Regions from separate parts of the Homo sapiens genome. Here region 2 is linked to region 1. The links are contacts of gene promoters, found by promoter capture Hi-C in blood cells and fetal thymus (Javierre and others, 2016). All regions are on one chromosome and are shown on one strand. The core of a region is centred on a gene start or on the middle of the fragment in contact, and the rest is flanking DNA. Distances in the headings are between cores, read along the strand shown. Region 1 holds the start of ZNF275 (zinc finger protein 275). Region 2 has its middle 5.6 kb from the start of HAUS7.

Region 1 (2,878 bases), core at 113-2,612:
AAATGCCACACATTCTCATTTATAAGTGGGAGCTAAACATCGGGTACTCGTGCGCATAAAGATGGGAACAACAAACAATGGGAACTACAAGAGGGGTCAGGGAAGGAGGGGTCAAGGGTTTAAAAACTAACTATTGTGTACTATGTTCAGTACTTGGATGACAGGGTCATTCGTACCCCAAACCTCAACATCACACACTATACCCAGGCAACAAACCTGCACATGTACCCCCTAAATCTAAAATGAAAGTTGAAAACATAAAATTTCTCAGGAACTACATGTGTGTGTATATATATATACATACATACACACACACATATATACACACACATTGCACATAATGGGCTAGCTTTCTCTTTTGTCTCTCTCTCTATATATACACACACACATATATATACATATATATATACTGCACATAACATTGGGCAAACTACTTGAACAGACACTTTACAAAGAAAGATATAGAAATGGCCAGTGAGCACATAAAAGCATACTCAACATAATTAGTCATCAGGGAGATGATAATTGAAATAACAATGAGATGCCACTTCCCACCCTTTCAAATGGCTAAAAATAAAGGCTGACAACCTCAAATGTTGATGAGGATGGGAAAGAAAAGGAGCTCGCATACATTTCTGGTGGGAATGTAAATTGCACAACCACTTTGGAATACATTCTGGCAGTTTCTTATAAAACATAAAACTATCCTGTGATGTGGCAATTCATCTCTTAGGTATTTGCCCAAGAAAAATGAAAGCATATGTCCACACAAAGATGTGTACATGAATATTCATAGTAGCTTTATTTATAATCGCCCAAACTGGAAACAGCCCAGATCATAACCTGGTGAATGAACAAACCAACTCTGATATATCCAAACAATAGCATACTACTCAGCGATAGCACATTCAACAACATAGATAAATCTTGAAAACATCACGTTGAATGAAAGAATCCAGACACACAATAGTACATACGATCTGATTCCATTCATACAGAATACTGGCTTTCCAGTCTTCGCCCTCAGTTCCCGACCCTTCACTCCCCCCACCACCATCTTGAAGATGCCCAAGGGGGAGAGGTCCCTTCCATTCCTTCGTTCCTTCCTTCGTCTGCTGGTCGATTTGTTCGCTCGTTCATTCATTCATTCGCACGCTCATTCCACTCCTCCCCACCTCCACCCAAGCGTCCAGCCCGCGCGCGCCGCTCCCCCGCAGGCTGATCAGACTTGCCTGCCCAGTCCGCCCCCGCCCAAACCCCGCCCCCTTCCCGCCACGCCCCCTTCCCGGGCCAATCGGGGACGAGACTGGGGCCGGGGCGGGGCCTCGCTCCCTCAGAACCCCCGGCGGCGCTCACGGCTCCGGAAACGCGCCGCGGGGCTGTTAGCTCGGCTGGGCACGGGCGGCTCCGTGGCGCTTCCTGCCACGCCAGGCCTGCCTGGGCCGCGCCAGCGCCGCTCCACCGAGGGCCGCGCGTCGGCCGCCGCCGGGCCTGGGTGAGTGTGCGGGCCGCGGGAGGATGTGCGGGGGGCGCTGGAGGGGCCGCAGGGCGGAGGTGATCGTGGGGGCGGCAGGAGGACGTGTGGACCTGAGTGAGCGTGCAGGGCCGCGAGAGGATGTGCAGGGGGTGCAGGACTGTGTGCGGGGCTGGAGCGAGTGTGCGGGCCGCAGAAGAGTGCACGGTGGAGGGAGGGGGCGTCTCTGGGCAGTTGGAGAGCTGCTCGGCCTTGGGCGGGCCAGAGCAGGGAACGGGTCCCGGATGACGAGTACGAAGAGGCCCGAAGGCCTTCCCGAGGCGGGCGGGGGGCGGCGATCCCGGGTGGGAATCGCTAAAGTGTAGAGGCCTGCTCTGCTCTTTGGGGGACGCTAGGAGATGGGAACCGCTCAGGGGCGGAGAGAAAGGACCCCTGCCCCTAGCTCCTAGGAGCCCGATCTGGAGGGGGCATTGTAGGGGTGGGGGTTAAAGGACTTTTCCCTGGTCTAGGGGAGGGACTGAGCCGCAGTCTGGGAGCTGGGAGGGTGGGCCAGGTGGGAACAGTTCCCGCTGGGGAGTCCCTCCTTTCCTTTTGAGTGGGTGGGAGTGGGGGGGGGCGGTTAAGCCTCAGCTTGGTGGGGAGAATGGGGGCCGGTAGGTAGCCTAGAGAGAGAGCTGTGGAGAGGCAGGGGAAAGGGGGCGGTGAGCCGAGCTCAAGGCCCTCTGTCTGAACCAGTCTTTTTCTGTCGCCCTACTGGGGGCCGCCATCTCCCACTTCAGTGCCCCCGCCCCCTTAAACTCCTTTGCTGGCTCCTCCAGTCTATATTTGGGTGATTAATTATATATCTTTTCCACACACACCCCCCACTCGCCTGCCGCCCAAAGTCCATGGTCCCTTTCAAACAACCCCCTGCCCCCATTCCTGGCCCACTTCCCAGAGGTCCCACCCTGCCACCTTGTTCCAACTGAAGCCCTCCAGCCAGCCTTGACCTAGCTGGGCATGCGGCCCCCTCCAGTCTCCTTAGTCAATGAAACATTTCCTCTTCAACCTCAGCCCGACATTTTTCCTTTACAAGAGAATTTCAGATGGGATTGCTGGAACAGCACCTCCCCTAGGTACTAATGCTGCCTCAGCCCCTCCCCACCCTCACCTTCCCCCAACCCTGCAACATTGGACCTTCAAGTAGAAGCCACTTGCACAGTATCTGGCCCAGTTCAGTACATCCCCACAAAATGTTACTAGGGGGATGTACTGAACTGGGTCAGACACTGAGTTTTATATATAGAACCCTATTGAGCAGTAATTTGCAGCCTTCTGTCTGTGAGGGACCCCTTGGAAATCTACCAGAACTTGTGAATTCTCTTCTAACCATCAGCACAGACTCAGAGATAGTGGGCTCCCATT
Region 2 (2,878 bases), core at 149-2,648, 140 kb after region 1:
GCGCTGGCGCGGGATGGGCGAGTGGCTGCGCGTGCACGCGGCTCGCGGGAGGTGGCGGGCGGGGGCGAGCGCTGCTGCACGTGCGCGGGGCGCAGCCGCGCAGGCGGCGGCAAAGGAAACGGCGGCGGGCGGGATCGCCCCCTCCGCGGGGAGACGCTCGGGTCTAGACGGCTTGGCAAGGCCGGCGGGGCTGAGTCACATGCGTCTGGAGCGGGAAGCGAGGGCGCCAGGACGGGAACACGAACGTGCCCGCTCGGAGGGCCGGCCGGGGGAGGGGGCGCCCGCCTCGCCTTCTTGCTTTGCCCGAGCTCCCCGGCCGGGCCTGAGCTCCAGCTTCTGCCCAACCTCCGTTCCCTGCCGAGGTCCTCGAAGCCCACCGGAGGGGATGGGGCGGGGCCGCTTTCACACGGAGTCCAGCGAAGCCACGCTATGGGCGGGAATGAACTCGAATTTCACACGGGCAAAGAGGGTGGGAAACTGGCCCCTATTCTGCCCCCATCCCGACCACGGCCCTGCTCCCTATGGGCTGGTCCCTGCTGCGTGCCACCCTCTGCAGTCCCCCTCCACTGGCACCCTCCACCCCATCCGCAGCCACCCTTGTCCCATTTGGGGTCCTGTGTTCCCCTTCCCTCCTTTTTCTTCTCCACCCCCACCCCGCAGCAGGCTCTCTCGCTCAGGATCACCAGGTCTCAAGCATTTAGTGCTCACCAAAGCGTCTGCAAGAAAAGTCATTTAATTGGGACCAGATCCTCTGAGGTTTCAGTAGCATTAAAATAAGATGGGTTTCCTCTAGGGAAGAGTTGCGGGCAACAGGAAGAGGGCATGGAAAATGGGGCTTTTTTCTTCTCCAAGCTTTAAGGGGGAAAGGCCCCATATTGTTACTGACATATAAGATAGCTGCAGGCGCATGTCCCCAGAGAATGCCACCCATGTGCCACACACTGCTGTCGTTTTCACTCAGACAACATGTGGAAAGCTCAAGAATGGGCCTGTTCCTTTTCTCTGGGGGTCACCCCAAGGCTGTGTCTCTGGCTGCCCTGGGCCCTGGGAAAAGGACAGGCACGTAGTAGGTGCTCCTGCAGAGAGCAGGAGAGCAGGAGAGCAGGAACAGCCCCCAGACCTTGACCCTGAGGCCCAAATGCTCCTGACCCCACCCGCTCCTCCTCGCAACCCCGCCTCCACCCTTGGCCAGCCACTATCACCTGGCCCCTGGCGGGCTCAGCTGCCACACGGTGGCTCCCACCTCCTACCCTTATGCCCCCAGTACATCTGCTCGTGCTCCACCCCACAGCCTGAGGGGGGCCGGATCCTGTGACTCCTCTGCTTAGCAGTCCAAGGTGGCTCCCTGATTCTTTCAAGGACAAAGGCAAGCCAGCCCACCGCCACAGACACCTTCCCACGGCTCACTCAGCCTGCTCCACCACATTGCTGTCATTGCCAATGCTCAAATTGGGCCCAACCCTTTCTCACCTGGGGCCTCTGCACTGGCCATCCCTCTTTTTCGGAGGGCTCTTTCTGTGGCTTTTTGCATGGCCATGGCCTCTTCACTCATGCCTCTGCCCAAATGTCACTTTCTCACGGTCCTCACCTGATCCCCTGTCAGTGAGCAAAGAATCCACTGTCCAGTCCTCGTTGATGACAGCCTTGAGGGACAAACAGCATTGCTTTGGCATCCTCCAGGCTACCAATCTGAGTCCCAGCTTGTAGAGGGTATGTGTGTGCATGAGTGTGTGAAGAGTGGGCTACATGGAAGGGAAGGGGGAGGAGGACAAGGGACAGGAGTCCCTTCCTTGACCTTAGAATCCTGGGATTGTACAACTAGAAGCGACCTTGATCATGTAATCCAGCTTCTCTAGGCGCCTTCTGGCTCTCAGATTCTAGAACTTTCTAAGGAGCCTGTTTCCACCATACTGAAATGAGAAGACTGGGGCACTGAGGAGGGAGGGAAGCTTGTTCCTGATGTCACATGGCCAGTCCGTCCATGGCAGAACTGGGAGCCCAAAGCTCTTTCCAGCAACCCTCGGGCTGCATCCCTGGTTCCTGGAAAATCCCAACAGCCCTCCCACCCTCTGCTCCAGACACCGGGCTCGGGATTACTGTTGGCTTGGGGCCTGCCTGTCTCAGCACAAGTCCGTCAGTGAGCTCTTGGGCGGGGGGGAGGGCAAGGCAGAAACTTGCCGGGAGCCTCTGGCTCTGCTGAGCCCCTGAAGGCTGGCTCTGCTCCATGGGGGTTCCTTCAAGGTCCCCACAATGGCCGGGTGCCCTGGGACTGGACAGAGTGGGCAGCAGGAGTACCACTCCCCAGGGGCCCACCCAGGTCAGCCACCAGGCTCCCGACCAGGGGAAGGGCAGCGAGGCCAGGCCTCCATGGGAGCTGGGAACTGAGAGCACCCCAGGCCTCACCCCTTCCTGCCTAGGTGGGTAGGAGCGGAGTCCCTCCCTCCTCCAGGCTGGCTGTGCCAGAGAAACCTGGGAGCAGGCTTCCCCCACCCCCAGCCCAGCTAATGGGAACCAGATGGCAGGATGTTTAGTCAGCGCCTGGGGAGCGGCGCAAACAGGGGAAATGGGTAGGGGGCCAGGATTCCAGAATCCATCCCCAGGCAGGGGGAGGGGCGGAGCCGGGGTTCCCATCACCGTCCAGTCTCCCGACCCCAGGTGCTAGGCTCAGCTCAGGCAGGGACCTACCCCGTTTCTCAGGCGATGCCTGGACCAGGAGGCAGGAGGACTGGCCTCTGGTATCGAGACTTGGGTGAGCCCCACTCCTTCTCTGTTCCTTCTCTGTAAAATGGGGGGTCGACTGTGCTCTGTCTTGCAGGATCCTGGGGCAAGCTTCACTTAGTCTTGGCAGCATACTTCAAGTCTGCCGTGCCCCAGTGCT

What was found. Contacts are between HindIII fragments. The CHiCAGO score rates a contact against its expected background, and 5 or more counts as called.
Region 2: a contact is called between a fragment that was not itself captured here and the fragment with the promoter of ZNF275 in region 1, in 2 of 17 cell types (monocytes and total CD8 T cells). The highest score is 5.4, in monocytes.

The regions. Positions count from the first base shown.
Region 1 is chrX:153,332,791-153,335,668 of GRCh38, forward strand. It overlaps ZNF275 (zinc finger protein 275), which reads left to right and starts at 1,363. Exons shown (of 4, transcript NM_001367757.1): 1 at 1,363-1,495. It overlaps MIR12129 (microRNA 12129), which reads left to right and starts at 2,672; the gene lies at 2,672-2,747. RefSeq lists silencers at 1,157-1,526, 1,617-1,696. The HindIII fragment of the contact is 4,020 bases long and covers 1-2,878 here.
Region 2 is chrX:153,474,741-153,477,618 of GRCh38, forward strand. It overlaps a transcript of HAUS7 not described here. Among named protein-coding and RNA genes, the nearest start is that of HAUS7, 5.6 kb to the left of the region's middle. RefSeq lists enhancers at 1,235-1,774, 1,970-2,470, 2,471-2,878. The HindIII fragment of the contact is 1,097 bases long and covers 851-1,947 here.